Linked DNA regions of Homo sapiens: all the other regions are linked to region 3. The links are contacts of gene promoters, found by promoter capture Hi-C in blood cells and fetal thymus (Javierre and others, 2016). All regions are on one chromosome and are shown on one strand. Each heading gives the region's core, a stretch centred on a gene start or on the middle of the fragment in contact. The rest is flanking DNA. Distances are from core to core; before and after follow the strand shown.

Region 1 (2,772 bases), core at 25-2,524, 220 kb before region 3:
CACCCAAGCGTGAGACCAGCTGGGGAGAGGGATTTGTTCCCCCTCCAAGGGCCTGGCTGCCTCTCCCTGTCTCGTTCTCCCTCCCAGCTGCCAAGCCTCTCCTGGCTGTCTCCACACCTCCTGGAGTCAAAACTGTGCTCGGTGCTGGCCAACACAGCCCCACCACATGTTTTGCATGGCTCACCCCATCCCTTCTCTCCCCCTTTGGGGGGTCATTTGTTTTGTTTTGAAGGAGGTGAGGTGCTGGGAGGTTTATGCCCTTCCATTCTGCTTTAGAACTGGGAGCAGGCCCAGATTGCATTTGCTTCCACTTCTGCGCGAAGGTCAAAGCCCTTGAAGGAGAGCGTCCTTCCGTCCTCCCACAGTTCTCAGGACATGTTCATTCTCTCTGGGCTGACCTGAGTTTCTAGTCTCCTCTGCTTGCCCAGTCCGTTCTCCTTTGCTTTACCCTTCCCTTCTGATGGTGGTGTCTCAAGCTTCAGACATTTTGAGGATTACCTTCACAGTGTTTTCCACATCCTAAGACATAATTTCTATGAAACCTCTCTTTGATGTGCTTGTTATAATTTATTTTAATATATTTTAGAGTAAATATGTAACTGTTGAGCAGTTCATTTACTCCCTGTGAATTATCTTGCCTCCAAGGGTATGTGAACCCCTCTCTTCATAGCCCTGTTTAAGACTCTCACGGCCTCTTTCGGAGGGCGCTGCTGGCTTTTACTCAACCTCACATTCTCCTAGAATCTCACATGCTCCTAGAGTTCTACTAGAATGTTCACGCTCCAGTTTCTAGCCTATTGGCCAATTCTGTTAGGCGATACCCCGAGGCTGTTTTGCCCATTCATTAGTTAGGGAGCTGTTTTGATGATGCCAGTTCTCCCTAAACCAGTGATAATAAATATTTGTTGGATTATGAATGGAATGAAAATGTTGTCTTCACTTGTCAGCACAATTCTAGAGTCCGAATCTCAATACCTGCAAACACTGTCTTTCCTCTCTCCTTCCTTTCTTTTTCTCTCTTCTCTTGTCTTCTCTTCCCTCTCTTCTCCTTACCTCTCCTCTTCTCTCTCTCTCTCCTCTTTCTCTTCCCTCCCTCACTCTCTCCCTCCTTTCTTCCTTCCTTTATTTATTCCCAGTCTCCTTCATTCTCTCCCACCTTTCTTCTTCCACTCCTCCATTTATTTATTTATTTATTTATTTTTGTCTTTTTACCTTTGGGTTAAAAAATTAGGATTTTATTTGGAGTTCACTTTCTAAAGAAACTCCTAACAGACCATGCACAGAATGTTTCCACACTGTAGTAGAAGAGTCTGGAGTTTTTTTCAGAGACCCTCTATTGACTTTCTGAGTTGAAACAGTTTAGACTCCACATAAAATATGTGTTGTTTACCCAGGCTCTTCATGCTCTGCATACTGTTACAGTCCTTGAAGAGCTTGTCAGTGACAAGTAAGATAAATGAATGAAGAGGACTTTACAAGTGTTTAAAAGCTAAGTATAGCATGTGCTGCCCACGACTTAATTAAACAGACCTGCGCTTAACTAAGTAACTTTGTGGTGGAAACATCTAGGGCCTTTCCCTTCCCCCAGACTCTGCCACTAGCAATGGTGCTCAGGATGTTAGAAATTCCTTGGTTGTCTGGAGTTGCTAATGTGTTAGCCTAGCTGTTAGCTGTCTCATTGGTTGAAGCATTAAACGCTAGTGTGGACTGTGCATAATGACTTTTGAATTTATATTAGGGGATGGTCAGTAACATGGACTTCTTTGGGGCTCCATTAAGATTTTCTAATGTGTCTGAGTTCCATCGTTTTCAGAGGGAATTTTAAAATCAAAAGTGAGCTGCTTTTCTTTAAAGCTATGATTGGAGTGGGTGATCAGAGCCCATTCCCAGGTCAGTCTTGATTTGTTTATGAAGGGGCTGGTCCTTAAGGATCTGAGCAGTGGGATGCACTGGTTACAAAGGAGGCTGCACAGTCAGAGCCTCAGATCTACCAGTTATTTGAGCTCTGATTAGTTGCTTAATCCCTAAGCCTCATCTTCTTCATCTGTAAAGTGGGAGTAATAAGAAGCTTCAACCAAGGCAAATATTCAGGGCATGTGCAACTGTGTCACTCTTGGTTCTCATGGGTTTCTGCATCTGTCATAGCAGCTATTAAAGATTTTAAATACAATCCCCACCCCTGCCTGCATCGCAGGGTTGATGTCAGACTGACTTAATGAGATGATGCCAACACAGTGTTGTTCACACAGCAAGGGCCAAGCAGGCATTGGTTATTATTTTTTATGTTAACAGGAGGCTCCATCTCACAATGTCGGTTAGGATCCTAACATTATGAGCAGAGCACATAGAACTCTTTCTTTATAAATAATCCTTCCTCATGGGCTGTACTGGCTGACAGTAGAACAGGGGAGATGCTGCTTCTGGCTACAGTCACTGTCCATAACCCTTCAGGGGATTCCCCAGGTTCCTAAGGTGGCAGCAGAAAGCAATGTTTTTTTTTGAGACAAGATCTCATTCTGTTGCCTAGGCTGGAGTGCATTGGCATGATCACAGCTTATTGCAGCCTCAACCTTCTGTGCTCAGGTGATCCTCCCACTTCAGCCTCCCAAGTAGCTGGGACTACAGGCATGCACCACCACACTTAGCTTATTTTTTGTATTTTGTTTTTGTAGACGTGGGGTTTCACTATGTTGCCCAAGCTGGTTTCTAACTCCCGAGCTCAAGCCACCCGGCTGCCTCTGCCTCCCAAAGTGCTGAGATTTCAGGCATGAG
Region 2 (2,924 bases), core at 383-2,882, 170 kb before region 3:
TTTAGCTGTTTGGCCGGCCTTAATTTCTGAAACATCAAATAACATCATATTTCAAGTCCCATTGATAGATAACCTATATGCCCCTACCCTTAGTAATATGTCTAACATGGTATTTTTCACCCAATTCTTTAAAATAATCTACATTCATGACTCAATTCTCATTATAAAATATTTAAGCTATATTGAAGTAGACAACTTAAAACCTGAATGTCTCCTTCACTCTGTCCCCCAACTCTACACTTCTCCCCAGAAGCAATAGACCCCAATTAATTGGTAGATATGTCCTTTGTCTGCATTTACAAATAATGCACACATAATTCATTTAACACAAATTAGATTATATTATTCAGCTTCTTCTGTGATTTGCATTTTTCACTTAACAGTATGTCTTGGTAAACTTTCCGTTTCAATATATATAGACCTACCTTATTTTCTAATAGCGACAGAAGTATTTCATGGAATTCCCCTGCCAAGGTTTATTTTAGCCACTCACAGTTAATGGGCATTTAGATAGTTTGCCATGTTTTGCTATCACAAACAAGACTGCAGTAAATAATTTTGTGTATATGCCTTTGGGCGTATGTGCAAGTATTTCTGCACAATAGAGACCCAGAATTTTAATTTTCTACATGAAATAAATCTGATAAGCTGATAAGAACAGGATTGGTTGCCAATTGGCAAATACATTCCAATCTGAGTCTTGAGTTTCCCAGCCCACGCTGTCCTGTTTGTGTTAATGCAGGATTGCCCCCAAGAGTCCTCCCTGTTCAGACCCTGCTGGCTGACAGTTTGAAATCTGGAGTTCAGCTTCATATATAAAAACCTTAGCTTTGCAATATTTAAATTCTTAAATACCCTAAAATGGTATGGACTTTATTAAACAGAAAGTGAAAAAGGGAAAATCTAAGGGAATTTCCCTGATAAATGGATTGAAAAGTCCATATTTAACAAAGCATTAGTCTCCCAGGAAAGGAGGTGGGCCCACTTTTTTTTTTTAAATAACCTTTTCACGTTTTTCTTCTCAGCTAAGCCAACTCCACAAATAGCCCAAACTAAACACGTAATGACTGTGCTGTGTTGAGATGTGTTTTGTTTCAGATTTTAAAATGCAGCAAATAAGATGTGATAGGCAGAATCTAAAGATGCCTTTCCAAGATGCCCATGCTTTATTCAAACACTAACCAGGTACTGGACGAAGGGACTTTGCAGCTTATCTTAAAATAGAGAGAGTATCCTGGATTATGTAAACGGACCCAATGTCATGACATTAGCCCTTAAAAGTCGAGAAAGAAAGTCTAAGAGTCAGAGTGGTGCAGTGGAAGAGGGAAGGGGAGAGATTAGGCAGCAGAAGAGGCAGAGAGGTCCCAAGGGGGAGGAGAGGAGAGACGAGGCTGTGATAAAAGGAAAGGGGCTATGAGCCAGGGATTGCAGGTGGCCTCTAGAAGCTGAGAATGATGCTTAGCCAACTGCCAGCCAGGAAAGTCCCACAACCAGACGGAGCTGAATTCTGCCAGTGACCTGAATGAGCTGGAAAGTAAATTCAGCCTCAGAGCTGCAAAAAAGATTGCAGCCCTGTTGACACCTGGTGATTTTGGCCTCATGAAACTCAGCAGAGAATGAACTGAGCCGTGTTGTGCCAAAATTCTGACCTACGGAACTGTGAGATAATAAATAGATATTTTTTAAAGTCACTAAGTGTGTGGTAATGTGTTAGGATAGCAGTAGAAAACTAATGCACAGACGAGTTGAACCAACATCTGTGTGTGAGACTTGGCCCACAGGACAAGCTGGTGCATTTTTTACTTTCTAGCAACTGGAGCAGGGTAAGGGCCCAATGTTATAATATGAAGAAGACCAGCTTGCATTTTCTAGGTGCTTACCTCATTTTAGGTGCTGTGCACGGTACTTTATGTGCATTTCTTACCTTGTTCTTCACAACAGCCCTACAAGGATTTATGCTTTTATTGTTATTATCCCTGTTTTATAGGTGAGGGACCTGATTGAGGCTCACAGAGGTTAGCTACCTGGGCAGGTGTCACATGGCTTATTAATGGCAGGGCTGGGACTCAAACCCATGTCTGTGGGACATCATACCCAAGTCTGTGCACATAAGTGCTGTACTTCACAGTGCACCACGACCCCAATTAAATATGAAGCTAATATGTTTCCATATACAAAATTGCTGATATTTAAACTCCTGCTAAACACTCACAACTAAGAATGCCTTTCATCACATAAAGCCCTTTAACCTTGTTTTAATGCCCTTGGAATACTACACCACTAGGTGCTGAGCAAGGAGAAAAAAAATCAAATTTGGATGGTCAAGGAAATAGGAGACTCCCACGCCACCCCCGCCCCACCCCCCAGGTTCTGCAAGCCAAAGCTCAGAGCACACTCTTACATTTCTCTTCAAATCCTTGGAGGTCTCACTTGCTCTAGATTGTGTCAAAGATTGTGCCCCTTCCCTGCACCAGGCACTCAATTCCAGGGGTGGAAGTTGTGATGGAGACATTTTTATAACTTGGACATAAAGATCAGGAGCCAAAAGGAATATCAGGTGGAACAAATGCTATTGCTTACATTTTATCTGGAGGTGGGGGTGCGGGTTGATGTGCCAATTTGCTCTCAGTTGCATGTACAGAAATTGTGACCTCAAATTCAGCCAATGGAAAGTCTGAGTATGAACATTCACATTGTTCAGACATTTAACAAATATGAACTGAGCTTCCATAATGTGATGGGGTTTGCATGAGAAGCTAATGATGCAGTAATGAATAAGGTGAGTTCCATACTCATAGATCTTCCAGGCTCCATTACTCCAGGCTAATGAAGGAAGCACAGAAAAGCAAGCAATTTCAGGATAGTATAATAAGTGCTGTAGTGGAGGAGGCACTAGATGCCTAGAGCAAATATGGGAGAGACGC
Region 3 (2,884 bases), core at 37-2,536:
CGTAGTACGGCTTTAAAATCCTGCAGAGTTTGTCATAGGCCGGCCTCACCACGCATGCGCATAGCAAAGTTGAGTTTTTTCTTTCTTCCCCCCCCTTCCCTCTCTCTTTCCAGCCGCCCCTAGTTCTGAAACTTTAAAGAACTTTTTTCTTTCTTTCTTTCTTTCTTTTTTTTTTTTTCTTCCTTCTGAGAACACCAGGGGAAAGAGGAGTCTGGAGAGAGGGAGGGAGAGAGTAAGGCAGTTGGCCAGAAGGGCTGGGGGGTGGGAGGGGGGGACGCGTCCCCGCGGTCGGTCAGTCTGTTTGCGGGGCACAGGATCGCGTGGAAATCTGCTGCGAGCTCCACGGAGCCGCCTCCGCCGCCCAGAGCCGGGGTCCGTGCGGCAGCTGCCCAGCGAGCCCTTCCGCCGCCGCCGTTGTGCCCGGGACCGCCCGCCTCCCGCCGGCCCGCTCTCCCGCCCCTCGGACCCGGGCGCCAAACGAGGAGGTGGGCAGCTTCGCCGGCCATGGACCGCCGGAGCTGAGTCGCCGCCGCGGAGCTCCGAGCTCTCGCCCTTCCCCAGCCTCGCGCCCGCGGTGCACTCGCTGCTCTTCGCCCTTCGCCCTGGAAAAACGGGGAAAAGAGAGATCAACCCGAAGAGAGAAAGAACGGGATACGTGGTGGGGGGGGGGAGCCCGCGTCTCCCCTGGGTTAGTCGCACCCCTCCAGCTCACCGCACAGCAATAAGTTCCGGGGCGACTTTCACCTATTTTGCTCCCCGTTTTTGCCGAACCCTAAAATGAAAGGACACAATTTGGGGCTGACTCTTGCAGCTCAGATGGCGACTTGTGCGTTTTCAGCGGCATCTCCCGGAGAAAAAGCCATGCGCGCCTGATTGTTCTGTGGCCCCAAAGCTGCAGCGGGGGTGTGTGTGTTGGGGTGTGTGTCTGTGTGTGTACAGAGACGTCCACACTAACTCGCGGCTGCAGGATCAGCGTCTGGAAGCAGACGTTTCGGCTACAGACCCAGAGAGGAGGAGCTGGAGATCAGGAGGCGTGAGCCGCCAAGAGTTTGCAGAATCTGTGGTGTGAATGAACTGGGGGCACCTGGGCGCACAGATCGCCCCCCTTCCCCCGCCCCGGGCCACAGTTGAGTAGTGGTACATTTTTTTCACCCTCTTGTGAAGAATTTCTTTTTATTATTATTTGTCGTAAGGTCTTTTGCACAATCACGCCCACATTTGGGGTTGGAAAGCCCTAATTACCGCCGTCGCTGATGGACGTTGGAAACGGAGCGCCTCTCCGTGGAACAGTTGCCTGCGCGCCCTCGCCGGACCGGCGGCTCCCTAGTTGCGCCCCGACCAGGCCCTGCCCTTGCTGCCGGCTCGCGCGCGTCCGCGCCCCCTCCATTCCTGGGCGCATCCCAGCTCTGCCCCAACTCGGGAGTCCAGGCCCGGGCGCCAGTGCCCGCTTCAGCTCCGGTTCACTGCGCCCGCCGGACGCGCGCCGGAGGACTCCGCAGCCCTGCTCCTGACCGTCCCCCCAGGCTTAACCCGGTCGCTCCGCTCGGATTCCTCGGCTGCGCTCGCTCGGGTGGCGACTTCCTCCCCGCGCCCCCTCCCCCTCGCCATGAAGGTAGGTGTTCAGTGCGCTGCCACTTTTTTTCTTTACTTCCCCCCACCCCCTGTTGGAAGTTAACTGAGTTCCCTTCGCCTCTTCCTATCCCTCCATTTCCCCAACCGCCTGAAGAAGCTGGAACTCCAGCGTCGCTGGCAGGAACCCCTACCCCTTCGCCCTCCACGCCGGGCGCACTGCCTCAGTGTCCCAGGAGATCACTTCTGGTCGCACCACCCGTTCTGCAAACAATTTTGATTTTTGAGAAAAAGTGGGGAAGAGCGATAGTAGACAAACTGAGTGCGGTTCACTGACGACTTTCCTTTTGCTCTGAGAACATCGAGTGTAATTTACTATGTATATTTCAGTAACAGGATAATGATTCAATTCAACAAATATTTACCAAGCGCCCACTGCGCGGGCACCGGGACGGTGTGTGGCCGGGGCTCGGGATGGGGAAAGGGACTCCTTGGTTGAGAGAACCCGCAGAGGAACTAGGGGCCAACTACTCCAGAGCGGCGTACACCTTCCCCGACACCCCCCCGCACCGACGGAGGCCAGATTGTAGGCTTGCCTTGGCCGAGTAACTCGAGCGCTTCAGGCCCCTTTGCCTTTAAGAGTGCCTGGCGGGGGGCCAGCGCGCACCCCGGCGCGGGGAGCGGGGTCGCGTTATTAGCATTATTAGCCGCCACTGGGTGAGCTCAGGCACTTTGCAGCAGTGGTGGGGGCGGGGAGTTGTGGTGGTAGTGGCTGTAATCCCGTACTCCGGGACAGCGCTCCCCGGCCCCCTGAGCGGAGTCCGCCTTGTCCTTTAGAAAACACTTGGGCCTCCGCTTTGGGAGAGCAGGCGGGGGCCAGTTTGCGAACTCTTGTTTGTTTTAATTGTCAGTTGTATGTTAAAGCCGAATCACACACTCCGAGGGTCACTGAGAGTTCACTTTTACGAAAAGTTAACGTTTCTTCCTGCAACATAAGTTTTTATTTTCTAAACAATTTTTCTTATCTGTCCTCCAAGCTTCGATTCCTATTTCCATTTTTCTGGTCTTTCCCATTTTAAGTTTCTTAGAAAATAAGGTTAGAATTGAAATTAAGATGTTTCCTGGAAGCAAATAACCCCTCTTCCCCCCAAAAAGTTAAAAAAAACAACAACAAAAAACTTCAAGTCTGGAGACCCCACGGCCCTGTTTGACTTTCTAATCCCTGTCTGGTATCGAGGCCCCTTCTCCTCTCTCGCCTCTCTTTTCTCTCTTCTCTCTTTAAATGGGTAATTCGCTGTTTGGAAGTAACTTGGGC
Region 4 (3,006 bases), core at 351-2,850, 190 kb before region 3:
GAAGGAGTTTATAAGCTGAAGAGGCTTGAAGACCATAACTCTGGGTAGAGCACAAAACAGTGAGATGAGGATGGAGAAGAAGGAAGGGACCAGAAAACGTAGGGCCTTTTATGGCGAGGTAGAGAGTTTAGATTTTAAGCCTAAGAAAACTGAGCAGACATCAGAGGAGTTTAAGCAGGGACATGACATGATTTGATTTATGTTGTAGAACAACCCTGGCTGCTGTGTAGAGGATGAATTGTCGTGGCAGGAAGAGCAGAAGTAGAGGCTGTTCCATGATCTGTGAGAGAATTGATGGCACTGACCCAGGGCAGCAGTAGTGGAGATGCAGACAAGTGGATAAATTGGAGATAAGACTAGGAAGGTGAAGCCAGGAGGACTTGGATGGGGAGGTAAGACAAAGGACAAAATTGAGAATGCCTCCAGATTTCTACCTTGGGTGTCAAAGCTGGAGCAGGCCATTATTGGTGGTGGTGGGGGCACTGAGAGGGAACTCAGAGTTCTGGTTTCCCCAGATGTCCAGTCGCTCTGGCCAAGGGAAGGGCAGGCTTTTGACCTTGGCTGTTTTCCATGTTCCTGCATATCAGCAGGGGAATCTCTGGCCTCTTATTGCAGTAATGTGCAGGCTGACAAGTTTAAAGCACGTCTGAAGTCTAACTTCAAGAGTGGGTGGCTCCTCCAACTCTTGAAGAAAAGGAGATTGCAAAGCAAAATCAGTAGTTATAGAATAAGAAGACATGTAAGGGGTAGCAATCTGTGGAAAAACAAAAACCCCAGAGTTGTAGGAGGTTGAAAGGGACCTAGGGACTAGAGGGACCTAGAGAGAAGGAAGTTGCCATTGGCTCTTGTAGTTCCCCCTGAGATCTCCAGGGATCAAGAATTCTGTCAGTTAAGGGGTACAACATGAGATTTTGATTGCTCTTGATAATTGACTTCTCATCTTGAAATTCTAAGTATATTATTTTTCTGCAGAAGAAGCTTTCAATAATCTCTTTTCAGGAGTTAATATGAGAACTAACCAGAAGTAGCTACGAGGTGTTTTAGAACCACCATGACAATGTCTCTGCCTACTTCCAATTGCAAAATCGATTCCTGGGCAAAGTAAGATGTTTTTGCTTTATCTCTGTCCCCACTTCCTCCTTTTATTTTGCTCTTCTACTCCTCTGGAAGGTGTCTGTATATTTATATCTTCTATTCAGGCTTACAAAGCTGCTGTTTAGAGCTTCAACTTGAATATCCTATTCACAGTCTTTGCAATTAGTAATTTATTCAAAAAATATTTCTTCATCTTAGTACTGGAGATGTACTGGATATACATCTCAGTACTGAGTCAAGGTAGTGAACAAAGTGTGATTCCTACCCTCGAGGAGCTTAGAGTAGTACATAGATTCTCAAGCAGGCGTCCATAAGCCCTGGAGGCTCTGCAAATCCCCTGACATGGTTAATAGGCTTCAATGTGGATGTATGCACATCCCCACAAAGAGAGTATTTATTTATGTTCCTCAGCAGATAGAGGGGCCAGTGACTCAGAAAAAGTGAAGAAGACCCTCATCTATGGTGGGGTGGCTAACAGTGTGGTCTCTGGATTCAGATAGACCTAGGTTTGGATGATCGTGGGTAAGTCACCTTCCGTCTCTCCCCTCCATTTTCTCTTTGAGGAAGGTTGTGACACCCCCAGGGCTGTGATGAGCTGAGTAAGATGCCAAGTCATGCCTGGTGCACAGTGAGTATTCAACCCTGGGTAGAATATCAGTATATCACTATTATTGTTACTTCTGGGCTCAGGAAAGTGTACTGTATCCATAAACAGAGGAAAGTGGTTGATACTGGGGTTGTTGAATTTGGGAGGTAAAAGAAAAGGCAAAAGAAAGGTAATCTATTCCTATGGCCATAGCTACACCCAAGCCACCTACATAGCAGGCCTTACTTAAAGCATGTTTACCCTATAAACATACCCTCTCCAGTTACCTTTGATTTTTATAACACTTGGGTATAGCAAAGGAAAGTTTGATTGTTGGAGAGTATGAATTAGTCCCTGTTTATAGCAGAGGGTTTCTTTCGGCTTAAAGAAAAATCTAATGAGTAACATGAAAGCCAATGAATATTTAACAAATAATTAATTGCGAGCTAATGAATTGGAAGAGAGAAAAGGATAATAATGTCTCAGTCCACCTCTTTCTGCTCTCAAGGGTGATGGACTTGGGGGCCAAGGTAGAAGCTTTTAAGGAGATTGGAGGGCAGTAAATAAGTTCTTGTGGGTTTCTCTGGAGCTCATAAGGGTTACCTGGCAGAGCAATGCATGTTGGCTTAGATATGACCACACTCTGAGGACCTGAAATCTGGCTGAGAAATCATAAACAAACAGTGGTGATAAATTACCACTGGGCCAGAGGCGGGAGGCGTCTAGCAGAGTGTTGTTACATTACATTACATCCTTCCTGTGCCAGGGCTGGCGCACAGGGAGCATGCTGGCTCTCCCACCCTTTTGTCATTTGCTTTAGAGTATGCTGTTGGTCTGGTCTTGTTTAACCTCTTTATTAATGATCTGTAAAGGGGAGAAAAGAGCATGTGAAGGAAAGTCACAGATGACACTAATTTGGAAGGTGTTGGAAACACTAGTTGAGGTCAGAGAAATCACACAAATGGCCTGAAGAAGGTTAGGAACATGGAGGGAAAATAACAAATCTTGGAGAAGTCCAGACACTCACATCTGGTGAAAATTAATCTGAGACACAGATACCAATGGGTGGGAGGGATATGAAAAGCTGAATGCTAAAATAATAATAATAATAATAATAATAATAATAATAATAAGCAGCTCAGTAAACGTCAGCGAAACCAGCCAGCCCAAAAGTCTGCTATGGGTGAGAGTAGGGAGAGAGGTGCCTTTGGTAGTTAGCACTGTCAGTGTTAGCAGGTGCCAGAGAGACATGCGTGATCTTATGTGACAATTGTCTTACACCTGGGACATCACAATATTATACATGCTTTATCTCAGAGGATCAC

Evidence for each region. The method cuts DNA at HindIII sites, captures the fragments that hold promoters and counts their contacts. A CHiCAGO score of 5 or more calls a contact.
Region 1: a contact is called between a fragment that was not itself captured here and the fragment with the promoter of WNT5A in region 3, in 2 of 17 cell types (fetal thymus and M2 macrophages). The highest score is 9.5, in fetal thymus.
Region 2: a contact is called between a fragment that was not itself captured here and the fragment with the promoter of WNT5A in region 3, in 1 of 17 cell types (fetal thymus). The highest score is 7.2, in fetal thymus.
Region 4: a contact is called between a fragment that was not itself captured here and the fragment with the promoter of WNT5A in region 3, in 1 of 17 cell types (fetal thymus). The highest score is 5.4, in fetal thymus.

What each region holds. Positions count from the first base shown.
Region 1 is chr3:55,707,167-55,709,938 of GRCh38, reverse strand. The region is part of intron 15 of ERC2 (ELKS/RAB6-interacting/CAST family member 2); the gene reads left to right. Among named protein-coding and RNA genes, the nearest start is that of ERC2-IT1, 49 kb to the right of the region's middle. The HindIII fragment of the contact is 1,592 bases long and covers 479-2,070 here.
Region 2 is chr3:55,659,904-55,662,827 of GRCh38, reverse strand. The region is part of intron 17 of ERC2 (ELKS/RAB6-interacting/CAST family member 2); the gene reads left to right. Among named protein-coding and RNA genes, the nearest start is that of ERC2-IT1, 1.9 kb to the right of the region's middle. The HindIII fragment of the contact is 4,168 bases long and covers 1-2,924 here.
Region 3 is chr3:55,485,708-55,488,591 of GRCh38, reverse strand. It overlaps WNT5A (Wnt family member 5A), which reads left to right and starts at 1,286. Exons shown (of 5, transcript NM_003392.7): 1 at 1,286-1,612. The coding sequence starts at 1,607. WNT5A-AS1 (WNT5A antisense RNA 1) reads right to left here and starts at 974. Exons shown (of 2, transcript NR_046656.1): 1 at 713-974; 2 at 284-602. The HindIII fragment of the contact is 5,010 bases long and covers 1-2,608 here.
Region 4 is chr3:55,676,250-55,679,255 of GRCh38, reverse strand. All of the region lies in intron 17 of ERC2 (ELKS/RAB6-interacting/CAST family member 2), which reads left to right. Among named protein-coding and RNA genes, the nearest start is that of ERC2-IT1, 18 kb to the right of the region's middle. The HindIII fragment of the contact is 1,240 bases long and covers 981-2,220 here.